Linked DNA regions of Homo sapiens: all the other regions are linked to region 1. The links are contacts of gene promoters, found by promoter capture Hi-C in blood cells and fetal thymus (Javierre and others, 2016). All regions are on one chromosome and are shown on one strand. The core of a region is centred on a gene start or on the middle of the fragment in contact, and the rest is flanking DNA. Distances in the headings are between cores, read along the strand shown. Region 1 holds the start of STAU2 (staufen double-stranded RNA binding protein 2). Region 2 has its middle 10 kb from the start of TERF1. Region 3 overlaps GDAP1 (ganglioside induced differentiation associated protein 1). Region 4 has its middle 9.8 kb from the start of GDAP1. Region 5 overlaps JPH1 (junctophilin 1). Region 6 overlaps JPH1 (junctophilin 1).

Region 1 (2,793 bases), core at 211-2,710:
GTACTTGAATCATCTAAAGAAAGCAAGGACGGGGAAGAAATATCCTGGAGAAATGTTGAAATCTTTTCTCCTCCAAGGTTACTATCACCCTGCCTGTCCATCACAATTTTGATTTCAAGTATTCACGATGCTGGTCTGAAACACAGGATGCATCAGAAGCCAAGTAATGCTCAGCAAAAGTTCACCAAAATTGTGAAAGCAAACATTAAATAAAAAACGTTTTCAATTAACAGTAAAATATCTTTAAAGGATCATCTCTAGCCTTTCTTTCTGCAGGATCCACCCACTTTAAAATCCTTTGGTAAATTCCCAGGTCTACCCTAATTGAATGGTCCCTCTCTATCTGCTCAAGCAGTTCTTAACCCTTTGGAGTGGGGATGGGGGTAAGGGGACATCACAGCAAATATGGACCCTTACCAAAGAAAATTATTCACAAATGCAAAATTCTACACACATTTCCAAAGACTTCCAGAATCCCACGGCCATTACCCCCACCGCCTCCCTAAGAATCCCAGAGTGGCGTGCTTCTCAATGGCCTCTGCGGAGCACCCCCAGCCCCCAAGCCACAGCCCCCGGCTCGACCCCGAAGAGACTAGAGTTCCTGCTCTCACACAGCGGATTCCGTAACTGAGCTTTGTCTCCTCGCCCAACTCCCTTCACCCCGGCAAGGTCACTACCGCCAACTACCCCTTTAAGCCGAGCCATCACGGTAGGAGTTCGTAACAGCCACAGCAGAACTTGCCTGTCATAGGATATATTTTGTCCCCTCGGCCCCACCTACCCTCCCCATTTCGGCAAGTTACGTCTTTACCACTAGCCCATTCTACAGAAATAGCTGCCGCCGCCACCCTCCGGCGCGCCCCGGCCCCGCCGCTCCGCCTCCAGCGCCCCCAGGCCCATTTCCCGCAGACCCTCCCCGGGCCGCCCTCCCCTGCCCTACTCTAGGCGCTCCCTCTCCCTCGCAGCCACACCGTGGCTGCACTCGCCGTCCTCTCTTCCGGCCGCTACCACCCCGGCCCCCTAGAACCCCAGCCTCCCGCGCCCGCAGCCGCGTTCCTGTCTCCCCGACCTCCGCACCCCCACTTGGCCCGGCCTCCTCGCCTTCCTCCCGGCTCCTCCCCTCAGGACACCTGTGTCGTCCCACCCCCTCCACCACACACGCACCCCCCACCCCAATTCCTTCGCCTCCCTGTCCTCCCTCCCCCGCCGGTCTCCCCTCCCCGCTGCTGCCCCGAGAGCCCGATGTGGGAGGGAAGGCGCGGGGGAGGGGAGGCCGCGAAGGGGGCTGCTTTTCTCCGGGTTCCCCGTGCTGCGGAACTGCAGGGCTCCCCAGCGCCCTCTGCCTTCTTCGCCGGCGGCGCGGAAGTCGGGGTCTCCCGGACGCCCCCGATGAGGGTATTTACCTTCTTGCCGGGGACACTTTGCAGACGGCTCCAACATTGGCAAACACTACAGAGAACTGACCCCGCTCGGCCGCCGCCGGCTTCCACCCCTCGGGCTCCCCGCCCCCCGCCTCCGCCCGCCTCCGCCCGCCTCCCCGGCGCTCCCGCCGCGCCCTCCCGCGCTCGCGCCGCGCGCCCCCGCCTGCGCAGCCGCTCCCGCGCCCCAGCACGCCCGGCCGGCGCGCGCGCCCGGCACCGGCTCTACCTCCACTCCGCCTCCCGCCGGCCCGCGACCAAGCGCGGCCATTGTTCGCGACGCAGCTCCCGCCCCCTGGCGGCTGCCGGGCCCCAGCAGCTGCAGGCTCTGCGGGGCTAGCGGCGGCGAGCTGGGCCCCTGGGCGAGGGCCATTCCCGGGGGGCTTGGGCACGCGGGCGAGCGACTGCGCAAGGAGCGCGCCCGGTCCGCAGTCTCCTCGTCCCCGGCGCGACTCCCCGCCCCCTCGTCTGCCAAGGGTGGGCCTGGGGCAGCCCCTTCCACACCTGCAACTCGGCAACTTCCTTCCCCGCCCGACTGACCGTCTGCTCTTTCTGGTCCGCACCCTGTGCTCTGATTCCCCGCTCGTACCTTTCCCAGGCTCTCCGGCTGCCCCTCTGTGCTGTGCAGGGGACGCGCGACCATCCCGCGTCTGCTCCGGCCGCCGCTGTGCAACGCACGGTTTAGCGGATCTTGCACCTTTCTAGACGGGGGAGGGGGCGGGGAGGAGGTTGCTTCACCGTCTCGCCCAGCAAACACCAGGGATCCGTGATCACCTGCTCGCCAAGACCCGCGGCGTGGCCAGACCTCCTCTTCTACCGAAAATATTAGTCACATGAAAAAGAATCCTTGGAGCCAAAAATGAGAACCATTGAAAACAATGCCCTGAATCCTAGATTTATGAGGCAAGAGTGCCAGAAAACAGAAATTACGTCTTAATTCGTCCTGGTTTTGATGTGGATTACTTTTGTCTAGATAACTTCAACCCAGTTAAGCTCAATGAAACTGAACACTTCGTTTAGTAACCGGCACCAAAAATAATCTGACAAAGAAATTTCGAAATAGAACTATTAGTGTGTTTTCACAAACTTACTCGTTTGCAACGTTATTTCTAGGGTTTCTTCCCAGTGTCACTTCTCTGACTGAGAAATGTCTCCCAGGCCGGTGATTTCAGTCATCATCTAAAACCAATCTCATGTCTGCACCTGGGAAGGTAGTGTGTGTCCTGGTTAACCGCAAGGGCGCCAGAGTCAGATAACCAAGGCTGGATATCCGCTTGCTAACTGGTGAGGAGACCACGGGCATGTTACTTATCCTGTGCATCAAGAGGAGACTACATGTGATAGATAGTTCGTATTTAAATGTGACAATACATAT
Region 2 (2,793 bases), core at 74-2,573, 750 kb before region 1:
AGGTAAGATAAAGTTGTCAAAAGAGATCAGGTACAAAAATGTTTGAAAACCAGGACAATGGAGAAAACTAGCAGTAGCTGATATTATTGAGCACTTATAAGTGCTTTCTTTAAATCATTGAATCCTCACAGCAACTCTATGCAATATCTTCTATCATGACCTCCCTTTTACAAAGAAGGAAACCAAGGCAAAGAGGTTGCTAGCTTGTCTAAGGTCACATATCTGAGTAGCGGGACCTGCAGTCACTCCCTGCTCTGAATGCGATATGATATGTAGATGAAGCCCCGTGAAGAATTCTAAGCACCACAAGAAGCACCCCTATAAACCAATCACTTGCTGCTGCTGATGCACTTGAACTCCACAATGCCCCTTCCTCGTGGCTTTCTAAGACCCCCAGCCAGGTTCACAACGGGGCTGAGAGTGGTCCTCTTGTCTCTTTTCAGAGATTTAACTGGCCAGAACTTGAGCATCCTCTTACATGCAAAACTTCATTGTCCCTTGGCATCAGAAGCTATTAATAAGATTTGCTCCTGATTCCAACAACTGTGACCTGAGACAAGTTAAAAATATTTTTTCTGGATCGTGAACCTTCTCTAAAATAAGACAAAATATTATCCTTTTCCATCTGAAATAATCCTGTTGTGACGAAGAATAATTTATCATGCTGTGTGTGACATCCTAAGTCATTAAATGGGAGGATCTGGCAGCCCTGCTTCATACACCCACGCACTTATCTACAAAAGTTGATATGCAAGAGAGCTTCTGGCTTTAAGTATTTAGCAGAAAGAGGAGATGGATCTCCAGCCGTAAGGAACAGAGACGAGGAACATGAACTCTGGCTAATGTCTACTCCCCTTGGGGAGGCCTTATTGGGAGAAAAGAGAATAATGTGTGTCAGGCCTCTGAGCCCAAGCTAAGCCATCATATCCCCTGTGACCTGCACGTATACATCCAGATGGCCTGTTCCTTGCCTTAACTGATGACATTCCACCACAAAAGAAGCGAAAATGGCCGGTCCTTGCCTTAACTGATGACATTCCACCACAAAAGAAGTGAAAATGGCCAGTCCTTGCCTTAAGTGATGACATTATCTTGTGAAGTTCCTTCTCCTGGCTCATCCTAGCTCAAAAGCTCCCCTACTGAGCACCTTGTGACCCCCACTCCTGCCCACCAGAGAACAACACCCCTTTGACTGTAATTTTCCTTTACCTACCCAAATCTTATAAAACGGCCCTACCCTATCTGCCTTCGCTGACTCTCTTTTTGGACTCAGCCCGCCTGCACCCAGGTGATTAAAAACCTTTATTGATCACACAAAGCCTGTTTGGTGGTCTCTTCACACAGACGTGAGTGAAAATGTGGAATCTGAGTGTCTGGTTTCAAGTTGTGTGTCCCTAACTTGCTAACTAGCTTTCTCACTTTCCAACCTCAGGTGATTTAATAACCCTCTCTGTGCTGCAGGTTCATCCTTTACAAAATTATAAGATAATAGTAATATCTACCTGATAAACTTGCTATGAAGATTAAATGAGTTAATACATATGGTACAGTTAGAAAGTTGCTGTCACCTGGCCGGGCGCGGTGGCTCACGCCTGTAATCCCGGCACTTTGGGAGGCCAAGGTGGGAGGATCACCTGAGGTTGGGAGTTTGAGACCAGCCTGACCAACATGGAGAAAACCCATCTTTACTAAGAATACAAAATTAGCTAGGCGTGGTGGCACATGCCTGTAATCCCAGCTACTTGGGAGCCTAAGGCAGGAGAATCCCTTGAACCCGGGAGGTGAAGGTTGTGGTGAGCCGAGATCACGCCATTGCACTCCAGCCTGGGCAACAAGAGTGAAACTCTGTCTCAAAAAAAAAAAAAAAAAAAAAAAAGAGAGAGAGAGAGAAAGTTGCTGGCAACTATTATACATGCAATAAATGCTAAGTATGCAGTATGGTCTGAATTGTGGTGTCACCCTCAAATTCATATGTTGGAACAGAATATCCAGCATGATATATTAAGAGTTAGGGCAGGCTGGGTGCTGTGGCTCACGCCTGTAATCCCAGCACTTTGGGAGGCCAAGGCAGGTGGATCACGAGGTCAGGAGATCAAGACAATCCTGGCTAACACGGTGAAACCCCATCTCTACTAAAAATACAAACAAATCAGCCGGGTGTGGTGGTGGGCACCTGTAGTCCCAGCTACTCGGGAGGCTGAGGCAGGAGAATGGCATGAACCTGAGAGGCAGAGCTTGCAGTGATCTGAGATTATGCCACTGCACTCCAGCCTGGGCAACAGAGCAAGACTCTGTCTCCAAAAAAAAAAGAGTTAGAGCCTTTTGGGAACTGATTAAGTCATGAGAACATCACCCTTGTATATGGAATTAGTGTCCTTATAAAAGAGGTTGGGCTGGGTACAGTGGCTCATTTCTATAATCCCAGCAATTGGGGAGGCTGAGGAAGTAGGGTCACTCGAGCCCAGGAGTTTGTGACCAGCCTAGGAAACATAGCAAGACCCTGGTCTATTCAAAAAAAGAAAAAAAAAAAAAGTCGAAGGGAACTCCTGCCTTGCCCCTTCTGCCAATTAAAAACACAAAAAGAAAATACCATCTTCGAAAAACAGAACAGGCTGTCACCAACACCTCAACAATCAGTGCCTTGATCTTAGACTTTCCAGCCTCCAGAACTTTGAGCAATACATTTTTATTGTTTATAAATGTCCCAGTCTGTGGCATTTTGTTATAGCAGCTCAATTAGACTAAAACAGTGTGGTTGATATGATCATTATCATTATCATCATTAGTATCTGT
Region 3 (2,793 bases), core at 294-2,793, 620 kb after region 1:
ATTCTGTCTGACACTTTCTTTTAATTCATTTTGAGACCTAGCATGTCTCATGGTCACTAAAAGAAGATTGGGAATAGGGTTGTTGAGTTTGCTTCATGGATGTGCATGTTATGGATCGATCCATGAACCAGTCGGATTAATCTGTGCTTCACTTGCTCAATTGGACATTTATTGTCTATAGGACCTGATTTATCAGCTCTTGGCTTTGAGGGCCAATCTTGGGTAAAACTCAGAAGAGTGGATTATGGAAGAGTAAAGAATATAACATGTTCTCATGAACAGATGGACTAGGAATCTGAAAACCTGGGATCTGCCTAGGATTATGGGCAGTTGAGTTCATGTTACTGGTCCTTAATTGTTGTTTTCGTTATTTGAGGAAACTGGACTAGAGGGTGTCTAACTATTACTCTGTCTCTATGTTCAGTGATAGTAGATTTATTGGGATTGAGTTGTGACATCCAGCTTTCTGCCTTCCTCCTGTCATGAGAATAGTCAGTGCATGATCTGTGGAGCAGGAGGTGTGCTTTATAGCAGAGATAATTGGAGATAAGAAGGGAAAGGATTGTGGCAGTGGTCACACTTTGGGAATGTTGATCAGAAACACTCAAACTCAGATCTTCTAAATCCAGAAACCATGTGTTCCCCATTATGTGATACTCACCTTTATTATTCTTATTATTCTTTTTTTCCTTTTTGATACCCCTCCTTTTCCTCTCCTCTCCCTTCCCTTTTCATCTCTTCCCTTTTCTCCCTTCTCTTCCTTTTTCTCCACTGCCCTCTCTTCCTGCTTCTCTTTCCTCTTATTCCTCCTCCTCTTCATAAATACCCTTTATAGTATTTGAAACAAGAGTTTTGACTATAATTCTATGACCTATAGTTAATATTTTTTAAAAATAAGGCTTTTTCCTCCCTTCATATAGGAGTTCATTATAGAAAGCTTGAAAGGTAGAGGAAGGCGGAGCAGCAAGCCTGCACTGAGCACTGTAAAGTGCTGGGCCTTGCTCTAAGTGCTTCCCATGAAGCTTCTCATTTAGTCTTCATGGCAGATATTCTTTGTTTTTTTCTTTTCTTTTTTTTTTTGGATGGAGTCTCGCTCTGTTTCCATGCTGGCGTGCAGTGGCATCATCTCGGCTCACTGCAACCTCTGCTTCCTGAGTTCAAGTGATTCTCCTGCCTCAGCCTCCCGAGTAGCTGGGATGACAGGCATGCGCCACCACGCCCAGACAATTTTTGTATTTTTAGTAGAGACGGGGTTTCACCACGTTGGCCAAGATGGTCTCGATCTCTTGACCTCCTGATCCTCCCGCCTCGGCCTCCCAAAGTGCTGGGATTACAGGTGTGAGCCACCGCGCCCAGCCGGCAGATACTCTTATGGTTCCATTTGAAAGGTGAGGAAACTGAGGCATAGACAGGGTAAGCCCAAGGCAGAGAAGCAGGGCATGAGCCCCAGAGCTCATGCTCTTGTCATTGAGTTTCTCTGCTTCTCCTTGTTACTGGTGTAGAAGGGAGAAAATAATTTTCTGTTTCCAAAATGTTTTTATTATCAGGCCAAATTGGAAACACAGAGTCTGAGCTGAAGAAACTTGCTGAAGAAAACCCAGATTTACAAGAAGCATACATTGCAAAACAGAAACGACTTAAAGTAAGCCAATCAGCTGTCCTCAGTTGACATACACTGCACGGAGTAAATGTTCTACTTTTTGTAAAGTACCACTATTTCTAGAATATCTTCTTTTAAATATTGCAGTTCACCAGTACACATGTTACCTTTGGCTTATGTTCTCCTTTTAGAAAGAATTTTTTATTAGACTTGATATTGAAACTTGATGACAAGTGCTTAACAAGCAGATATTGAGCATGCTGGTTGCCAAAAAAGTTATGAAATGCAAAGGAAGTTCATAACATATTCTAGAATCTGTCATTTCAGGTATTCCACCACTGGAAGTCCTCGCTAGACCTACATCCCTCCATGTGTCGCCCTGACTTGCTTTGCCCCCTGAGGAGTGTGCTTTATGGTCAGCCTTTCTCCTTCTGTTGATTCCTTCCCCGGGCCCAGCAACTATTGCAAGCTTCTCTCATATTAAAAGTGTAGAAAACAGCAGCACTCCCAACCCTCCCCAACTTCCCACCTTCCTTTATCCTATCGTAGCTAAACGAGCTCCTCAGAAGAAACACCTGCACTCACAGTCACTTGACTGACTCTCCACTCGCCGTTTAACTCCTTCACTCGGACTTCTTACTCATCCCTGACCCTTCAGCTACTCTTTCAATTACGGCTGCTAGAATTCTTTTCCTGAGTTGGGCTTGGCAGATGGCTCTTCGTGTCCCTCCCATTCTTTGCCTTCTGTGGTCATCTGGCCTCATAGGAGCTGCCAGTGAGTGGTGGGTCTGCTCCTGGGTCATTTTCACAGCTGGGATATTTCCCTTCAACTTAGCTCTCTCTCTCTCTTTTTTTTTTTTTTTTTTTTGCTGAGTTTTTCTATTTCTTCTCGTTGTCTAAAATAGGCTGAACTCTGTAAGAGTTTGTATCTGCTTTACCTAGATTTATTTTTTTTAAAGGTGCAAATAATATGTTTGGTTTCTTTTTTTGGTGGTTAATTAGTCAAAGCTGCTTGATCATGACAATGTCAAGTATTTGAAGAAAATTCTTGATGAGTTGGAGAAAGTCTTGGATCAGGTTGAAACTGAATTGCAAAGAAGAAATGAAGAAACCCCAGGTAGGTTCTCATTTATATTCTTTCTCTCTTTTCAACATCAGTATTATTCATGGGAACATTCTTAGGTCTCACCAAA
Region 4 (2,793 bases), core at 214-2,713, 590 kb after region 1:
CCGCCCCCACCCTTTATCCATCTTTTCTTTCCTTAACAAGGTTACCACCAATAGCTGTTTATGGTACTAGTGGGATGCTAACAGTACACGTTTAAAATGTAGGCCAACAGATTTTGAAGCTTTTGATGACATACAGCAGATAGATTTGGAAATGCCTAAGAACTTCTCATTTTAACTTTCCTCCTGATAGAATCTATTTGTATCACTGGTTTTAGTCTTGTAGACTTGGAGGGAGTGGTGAAAGATGAACAGGCAGGGCTCAGCCACAAGGGGAGAAAAACGTCATCCACCCCCCAGAATAGCAACAGCAATAAATATGGTCATGTCGCTCTTCTGCTGAGGCTAAAACGACAGACAGGATCACATTTACGGCACCCAGCAGGCCCACTGCTATGAGGGGTGGCTCAGGGCTTTGGAAGCAACGTGTACAAAAGTTGGTGCTGATTTCAGAGCTGTGACTTAGCACAGAAAGAAACAGGGCATAGGGTCTAGACCCCAACTCAGAGCTAGAAGGGGCTTGGCACCCTCTTGGCCACAGGGGAGGACATTCTAAATCAGCTTTCAGGACAACTGGCTCAGGGCTCTTGAGAGCGGAGCTGAGAACTTCCCTGCATGTCTGCCTGAGAACTTGCTGTTGTCTGCAGCTGCCACAGCCGTGAAGGCCCAGATGTAATCAGGAAGGTAAAAAAGAGGGCTCTCATTGATCATCAGTTATTTAAAGAGGGCCCATCAGATTTCAGTGACTTCTTTGCACAGAATCAGCACCTTTGCTCTGGGAAGTCTAACAGGAAGGAATATCTCCCTTCAAAACTCATCAAGGCTTCCCTTCCAGACCAAGCCACTGGATTTTAGCCATTAAGGCTCTAGATGCCTCAACTTCATCTCTCTATTTTCATATATATTCCAATTTCATATACTAAATGTCCATATCTCTGGGGAGTTGTGTTTTTACCATCTTCTTTTGCCACTTGAAACTGGTAGGATGGGGCTTATGCATTTTCATAACTTGCATACAGCAGGAGTCTCTTAGGCTGAATAGTTTTCAAGCTAACATATGTAGCTGATTCTTCATATGTGCTTTGGAAACCAAGGCATCACCTGAATTTGACCAGTTTCCCTTTTTTCTGTTAAACTTCCCTGCTCCAAAATGATGCAGTTTCATAAAGTGAAGCTTTTCCGCTCTGCCATCTTTGTGGTTCACCGACTTTTCCAACCTGTCCCCGCAGGGAATCCCTGGAAGCAGGTTCACTTTGGCCACATCACCCCTTTCTCTCATGGAACTTTAGTAACCACAGACTCAACTCCGTGCTTTCATTTGTTTCAATTACATACTGAGGATTTAAATTGATCTTTTCTTTATGGATTGCAATATTACTTTTATTTGAAAAATATAGTACTTAAGTGAAAGCCAATGTTGTTTTACACTTTGGTGTCTCTGTAAAATTCAGCACTATATTCTATTGTCACTGTTATCTTATGCTTCTTTAGGATCTTATTAAGACAAACAAGGTAAGTGAAGTATGTTTTTATAGTACTGTAATCATTCTCATATTTGTGCTGTCACTGTCCTTGGTAACGGGTGGTTAAGAAAAAAAAAATCATACCAGTGTGTTGAAGCTGGTGCCAAAGAAACATAAATGATTATTGCTGCTCATTGTCTGCTGCTGCCCAGAACTTTAACTTGCCCTATTTATACAGTTACAAAGCAAAATCTTACTTAGAGAAACCTTTGCAACATTAGCATTTTCTTTCTTTAAAGCTTATGTCTCTGAGTTTTTATGCCGTGTTTCTCACGTAGCCAGAGACAATGCAGACATAAATTAACTTTTCTGTGTATTATTTAGTGACGAAAAGAACACAACAGCAAGGATGTTTGAAAAATAAATTCCAGTGTATTCTTAAATACTCTAATTTGAATGACAAAGCTATATTCCAAATGATCTTAAGTCTCTGGAAAGATTCCTTTAAATATGAAAAGAGAATGATAAAATAAGATGTCCAGGAAGACTACTTGAATCATTTACTGGGAAATAGCAAGAAAAAGGCACTCTCCACTGAGAGGATAGTTAAAATGTACAGAAACACATTTTAAATTAGTAAGAAAGCACTTAACTTTAGGAAATATAACTAATTAAAAGCTGCAATTTCAAACCTAAGCATTAAGTATCCTCTGTGCAGTGTGCGTTTCTAAGATTGTGTCTAAAATATCCTACAGGCTTTTATAGTTGCATTTATAAATATAACTCTTAATTATTCTTAATAAGACAAATGTTTGTGATACTATTAGTTTTATTCAAATATTGGATGACAGTGGGAAGTGCCTCCTTTTTTTCTCCTAGATTTTTCTTACTTTCATACTATAAGTGATTTTTGCAGAATATTAATATAACCATTGAGATGTTCTTTTAATGATTTTCAACAGGCTTAGCATGAAGTCAAGAAAAGAATCTGTGGAAATATGAGTAGTATTTAAGAATTTTTATTATTTGTTATTTCTTTCATCAACTGTAATTTCCAGCTAGTGGTGATTATTTCACATGTATTTTTGAAGTATAAATACCTAAAATTCATTGTAAACCATTAGAGAGAATTGCCAAAAATGAAGTTACAGAGTGCAGCCAATCTGGCAGGATACACTGGAGAACACATTATTAGCTGACATTTACCCAGAGTATTCAAAAAGTCAGTTATTTTTACCATTCTATCATTATTATCTATTATACTTCTTATGTGCCATGTGCTAAAATTGTGTTAGTTAACATGTTAAAAATCACAATGAATCCTCAAAATATC
Region 5 (2,793 bases), core at 165-2,664, 570 kb after region 1:
GTTAACAATGGCTGGTTATTTCATTGCACTTAAAAGTTAAAACCATAATGACTCCCAAGTCAACGGTTTTGACCAATTTCAAGACTACCTTCTCTTTTTGTTCATTCTGGCATATGTGACACAGGCAATAGTAGATATACAATGAAATACTAAGTGGGTCTGGTACTGTAAATGTCATATTCTGGGTAGATGTGAAGTCTTAACTTGACATCTATGAACTTCTGAGGAGGTGGGTGGCCCACAGTTTTCTCTGAAAGATTAACTCAAGAGGATAAGATAGTCATGTAAAACATTTCAGGCTAAGAAGCTTCCTATTGAATACTGGCCATCTCCAAATACCGCCATCTTAACAGGAATGGGAATGGAATTATTAGGAAATTTTGACTTTGACTTTTCCTTTGCCTATACAGGTAAAATTTAAATTCTAGGATGAAAGTTTCACAATCTGGCTTGAAGATACTAAAATAAACCACCTTATTTTTAATATTTTGTTGGTTAAAAGAATGCTATAATCACATCCTCCTAACTTTTGTCTATAGTGACAAGTTAATTTTGCTAGAACAATTTGCAGAGATGCTGTTTGATATCAATAAGTATCTGCACTTTTAAAACACAGCCATACCATCTTGGTAAATGTTTAACACTGATGGAAAATTAACAGCTAGTTTCTTTAAACTGTTATCTCCAAAAATAAGACTAGTACAGTATTTAGAATTTCCAAAAAAGTATGGCTTGAAAATCCAAGCTGTTTAAGGCAACAGCAATAATTAGAAAGTTTAAGTCTCTGCTTAACTGTCAAATAGGGAAGGGGGGGACAAGAGCATTGGCCACATTCCTCTCCTATTTTGTTAAATCACAGTATATGAAAGAATTCCTCCACAGAATTGCTAGAAACCAATTTGCAGTCAAACTGTTAGCAGTTCATCTGAAATTTAAAATAGGTTTAGTTTAGTCAATGAACCTAGAATAAGAAAGGGCCTATTTCTTTATGAAGCAGGTGGGTTCCAACTTCTCCCTGCTGCTCAAATAAAGTTCTAATTAGTTCCTCTTGATTCCTAAAATGTAGATGCATATTTCACAAGTATAAAAATTACTTTTACCAGTTTTAAACTGTGTTCATTTGGGAGCTAATTTTTTAGATTTAGTCATTTTAACTACACAATCTTGTAGTGGAAGGCATCCAGTTTAGGAGTTTCAGTCAAATTTGCACTGCACTATGCCAAACTTCAGTTTATATGCTCCGAATGGGTATGTGCAAGTATGCATCTAGTTAACAAAACGTTGTGTTTTCCCAGATATTTTCAATAGTTTTATGACAAGTGAAAAAACAAAGTACAGATCAGAATTAGCACAAAAAATTCTGGGCACCTAGACTTGGATTTCATGAGTATGATACTAACTTATTGTTAATATTCAGGGGGTTTCTATTTCAGCAACATGTAATACACAAATCACTAATAAAATAAGTGATACGTCTCACATGGAATTACTGCTTCCTTCCTCCTCCAGTTTAATGTCACCACAAAAAAACTCGGAATCAGATTTTCCCTGAATCTGATACAGGGTGTACAGGGATGGACATGTGGCGATGGGGAGAGTGCAAACAAAAACAAGCTAACTCCTTAGTGAGAACAGCAGAAAACAAGCTAATTTTTTAGTGATATTCCTATTTTGGCCAAAACCTTTGTATGAAATAAGTTACAGCAATAAACTTGCTTTAGACTCCCTTTTTATGATTGAGAACTTTCTAATGAAATAGTTACATATGAGACAGTAGAAAATCTATTAGCATAGAGTAGACATTCAGTAGTGATTTTTAAGGTTTTTCTTCCTAACTGTAGCATATTAGATTTTTTTTTTTGGTAGAAGAAGAAAACCACAGTACCACCCAGGATGATGCCAAGTTTTAAGTTTTTTTTTAAGTTTATTTTAAAACTGAAGGCAGATTATTCATAAAATCATTCTGGAGACTTATTTGGGTTTCTACGACATGTACACAGACAGCCTCTACTGTGCTATATATATTTTGATTACTAGGTATAATGAATACTCTAAACCAAGAGAGTGTGTTTAATGAATAGTATCTTTAAAAGGAGACGATTTTTAACCTTCCAAAACTGAAGAGAACCATCCCTGGCCTTCTTAAAAGATTATAAAATAATGCACACATTTAAAACAATAAATTTTGCCTTCTACTTTTGAGCATGGAATTTAGTTATATAGTAGAGCTGGGGCCTCCAACAAAATCCAGTCACAAACTGACATATTTACAGCGCTGTCAACCAGGTACTTTATGCCCATTCAGAACATTTAAGGGTCCCAATTAACTACTGTGAAACTCGGGACTCAGCCCCACATAAAACTATTAGAGAACGTTTTTTTCTTTTAATCCATGAGAACCATATGCTTAATTTATACTGTAGGATGAAAAGATGTCCTTTTTAGCAAGTTCTACCATTCTGCCATTTTGCATTTGAAACACGGCCCAAGTGTTCTGACTAAGTGAAGTGTACAAATTGTGTAAGCTTTTATATAAGCAATGGTATAAATGGGGTTGCAGTGGGCTGGAGAAACTTTTAATTGCATCCCTTTAATATCCTCCAACTCTGAGCTGCTTAATTCCAAAAAGTGATGTCGCCTCCTACAACCCTTTTCAACTAAATATGATTATGTTTATCAGGAAATGCACTTTGCTAAAGCATAAGCTATTCATGAATATCTTTCTCAGCGTATTACACAAGGAAATTCATCAGGTTTTGACACCTGTTTCAATAATGTATACTTTTCCTAATA
Region 6 (2,793 bases), core at 153-2,652, 560 kb after region 1:
TTCCCCAACCAGCCGTATACCGGGAATGAATCACTACATTTTCTAATTGAATAATTTATCACCCATATACTGGGAATGAATGAACCTTTTTCATTAACCTTAATAGGGGTATTAGAGTATCATCCACACAACATCTCAGACTTGCCTCTGTTCCTAACCCACTACTTGCAGTCCATCAAGTCCTGCTAATTTTATCCCTTTTGTCTCTGCCACCCTGCCCTCAACCAGGGTCTTTTATCACCTCCTCCACAGACCAGGCCTCCGGTCCTGGCCCCACTTAAATTCTTTCTCCATGAAGCAGGCAGACCATCCATTCAAAGGCAGATGGCTCCCTTCTCAAATGCCTTTGAAGACTCCCCAAAGCCAAAAGCAGAAAATGCAGCTCCCAAACCTTGGGAATTTTGTTTCTTATCATATCCTCCCGATGCACTTTCCAAATTTTAGTGTGCCCAAGAATAACCTGAGAAGTCTGTAACAAATGCAAGTTTCTGGACCTTATGCAAAGAAACATTAATTCAGTACTGGGTGGAGGACTAGAGAATTTTAAGCACCCCTTGTGATCTGCTGCAGTGGGCGGACAGATCGCTCCTGGAGAAAGCGTTCTTCCACTATCCAACTGCTTGCAGGAACTCACACTGTACACTTTCATTCCACTCCACCTTTGCTCAGGATCTTCCTCCAATATGCAACACTGGCCACTGTTTGCTCCCTAACTTCCACTCATTCTTCACCTGCACAGGCTCAGCCTCATCCCTGTAAGCCCCATATGCCCTCAGTGTTCTTCCCTCTTTTGCACTGTCATGGTTTTTTTCTTAGAATTTACCATGTTATACTGACCTTATCTTTTTATGATTGTTTGGCTCACAAGATTTGTGGCTGTTGAATGAACAATGTCTGTTAAATGAAACAGTGGCCAAATGAAGTCTATGACTAAATAATACTGTTCCCAGACAGATCTTCTTTTATGAGCCTAAGCAGGGTACATGGGTTCAAAAAAAATTCCTATCCCAATTCTCAAAACCCAGTGGAGGGGAAGGGCTTGGGGCTCTGACGCTGCCGTGTGCTTGCCATGTGAATTTCCTATGCCTCAGTTTCCTACCAACTCACAGGGTTGCCATGGGGATGAGAGGAGATGACAGATGTCAAATTCACACAGCAGGTAACCACTCAAGACCTGTTGGGTCTTTTTGTGTGTAGCCAAAAGGTATCACCCAAATTACTGACCTCAGACCACAAGAAGAGAACAATGTGCACCAGTGCATAACACACTTAGGGGAAACCTAGCAGCATCTACATTGTTTCCTTAGGGAAACCTAGCAGCATCTACATTGTTTCCTTATCTGGAAACACTGCCAAAACATTCATTTACTGCAAATTGCTAACTTTAATGTTTCTGTACACAAATACTGCTAATAAGATCCTGCTACCACCCAAAATTGTATCTTATGGACTCTAGGTAGAAATAATTTTTTAAACTTTTTAAAGAAACCACTAGTAATTTTCCCTTTTGCATTATAAAATTTGTACATATATTTTCTATGCTCTATTGATAGCATTCCTGTTATCAGGTGTAAAATTACTTATTGGAAGAGACATTTTATTTCTTAATGCAGTCCATGCCTGCTATGGAACTTGAGTGTAATCGCTAAGGACTGACAGGGCTTAGGCAAGGAGGGGGACATGGGAGAAGGCATTCAGGCAAGGAGTGTTGCTGGTGCAAAGAGCTCCAGGAAAGTGCCTGTGACAAGCTCACCCAGGATGGGTCATAGGTGCCTCTCAGTGGGTCCCTCCAACCTGCAGCCTCATAGCACCTGCCAGTTGCACAAAGGTACTGTGAACCTGGTAGGGTATTTGCTTTTAATGACAGGTTTTGTTTCTTATTCATCTCTGTATTCCCAGGGCCTAGTGCCATATTTGGACAGAGCTGGCACTAAATAAATGTTTGCCAAATGATGTTTCTTTAGCATAATAATTTGTGAGAGTGATATTTTGTTCCAGTAGGTTGCCAAGAAAAGAAAAAAAAAAAAAAAAACAGTCCAACAGAGCTTGCTCACTGGGTAGGTCCCTTGAGCACAAACCTTAGAAAGCATAACTTCACAAATTCAAGAATAGAAATTCAGATACCTGAATTGCATTGTCATAAGGCAACAAATTCCTAGTCACTTAATGTGAGAACTGCTTTACTTGTACTTCTTAAAAAGAGCTGTGTCTAGTATTACATACAAGGATTTCCTCTTTCTCTGCATGTCCCGTAAGTCTTTCCCAGGGTTTGGCTCCAAGCTCTGCAAGCACAGCTCAAATCTCTGAGTTCCAAATACATCTTCCCCCATTATCTTTTAGGCTAGCATCTTGAAATTCAAGAAGCCAAAAATCCAAACTTATCTTCCTCCCTAAATCTGTCCCTTCCTGTCTGGTATCCTTCTGAGTAAACAGTACCACCATCCATTAGTTGGCTAAGCCAGGAACTTGGAGCCACTCTGATGACTCCTTTTCTAGGCTTACCATGCTTAACTCAACCAGCCACAGGTCCTAGTGAATCTGCTTGGGAGGCTCTCATTCAATCATTTGCTTCTTTCCATCCCACTGCCACAGCTTAGCCCAACACATAGGCTATCACTTAGATCACTAGTTAGCAGATAACTATTTTTTTATTTTTAGAGACAGGGTCTTGCTCTGTCACCCAAGATGGAATGCAGTGGCGTGATCATAGCTCACTGCAGCCTCAAACTCCTGGGCTCAAGTGATCCTCCTGCCTCAGCCTCCCAAAGTGCTGGGATTAAAGACGTGAGCCAC

The links. The method cuts DNA at HindIII sites, captures the fragments that hold promoters and counts their contacts. A CHiCAGO score of 5 or more calls a contact.
Region 2: a fragment that was not itself captured here is called in contact with the fragment with the promoter of STAU2 in region 1 in 1 of 17 cell types (neutrophils); the score reaches 5.9 in neutrophils.
Region 3: a fragment that was not itself captured here is called in contact with the fragment with the promoter of STAU2 in region 1 in 1 of 17 cell types (naive CD8 T cells); the score reaches 7.8 in naive CD8 T cells.
Region 4: a contact is called between a fragment that was not itself captured here and the fragment with the promoter of STAU2 in region 1, in 3 of 17 cell types (fetal thymus, M0 macrophages and naive CD4 T cells). The highest score is 7.7, in fetal thymus.
Region 5: a contact is called between a fragment that was not itself captured here and the fragment with the promoter of STAU2 in region 1, in 2 of 17 cell types (fetal thymus and M2 macrophages). The highest score is 10.6, in fetal thymus.
Region 6: a fragment that was not itself captured here is called in contact with the fragment with the promoter of STAU2 in region 1 in 1 of 17 cell types (fetal thymus); the score reaches 6.6 in fetal thymus.

The regions. Positions count from the first base shown.
Region 1 is chr8:73,745,380-73,748,172 of GRCh38, forward strand. STAU2 (staufen double-stranded RNA binding protein 2) reads right to left here and starts at 1,461. Exons shown (of 15, transcript NM_001164380.2): 1 at 1,404-1,461. RefSeq lists silencers at 864-923, 1,034-1,213, 1,504-1,593, 1,674-1,963. The HindIII fragment of the contact is 14,890 bases long and covers 1-2,793 here.
Region 2 is chr8:72,996,972-72,999,764 of GRCh38, forward strand. No RefSeq gene overlaps it. Among named protein-coding and RNA genes, the nearest start is that of TERF1, 10 kb to the right of the region's middle. RefSeq lists an enhancer at 106-717. The HindIII fragment of the contact is 4,004 bases long and covers 1-2,793 here.
Region 3 is chr8:74,360,337-74,363,129 of GRCh38, forward strand. It overlaps GDAP1 (ganglioside induced differentiation associated protein 1), which reads left to right. Exons shown (of 6, transcript NM_018972.4): 4 at 1,548-1,642; 5 at 2,603-2,717. Among named protein-coding and RNA genes, the nearest start is that of GDAP1, 11 kb to the left of the region's middle. The HindIII fragment of the contact is 1,047 bases long and covers 1,021-2,067 here.
Region 4 is chr8:74,339,207-74,341,999 of GRCh38, forward strand. No RefSeq gene overlaps it. Among named protein-coding and RNA genes, the nearest start is that of GDAP1, 9.8 kb to the right of the region's middle. The HindIII fragment of the contact is 588 bases long and covers 1,170-1,757 here.
Region 5 is chr8:74,317,144-74,319,936 of GRCh38, forward strand. All of the region lies in intron 1 of JPH1 (junctophilin 1), which reads right to left. Among named protein-coding and RNA genes, the nearest start is that of JPH1, 3.0 kb to the right of the region's middle. The HindIII fragment of the contact is 2,218 bases long and covers 306-2,523 here.
Region 6 is chr8:74,300,945-74,303,737 of GRCh38, forward strand. The region is part of intron 2 of JPH1 (junctophilin 1); the gene reads right to left. Among named protein-coding and RNA genes, the nearest start is that of JPH1, 19 kb to the right of the region's middle. RefSeq lists an enhancer at 124-625. The HindIII fragment of the contact is 3,913 bases long and covers 1-2,793 here.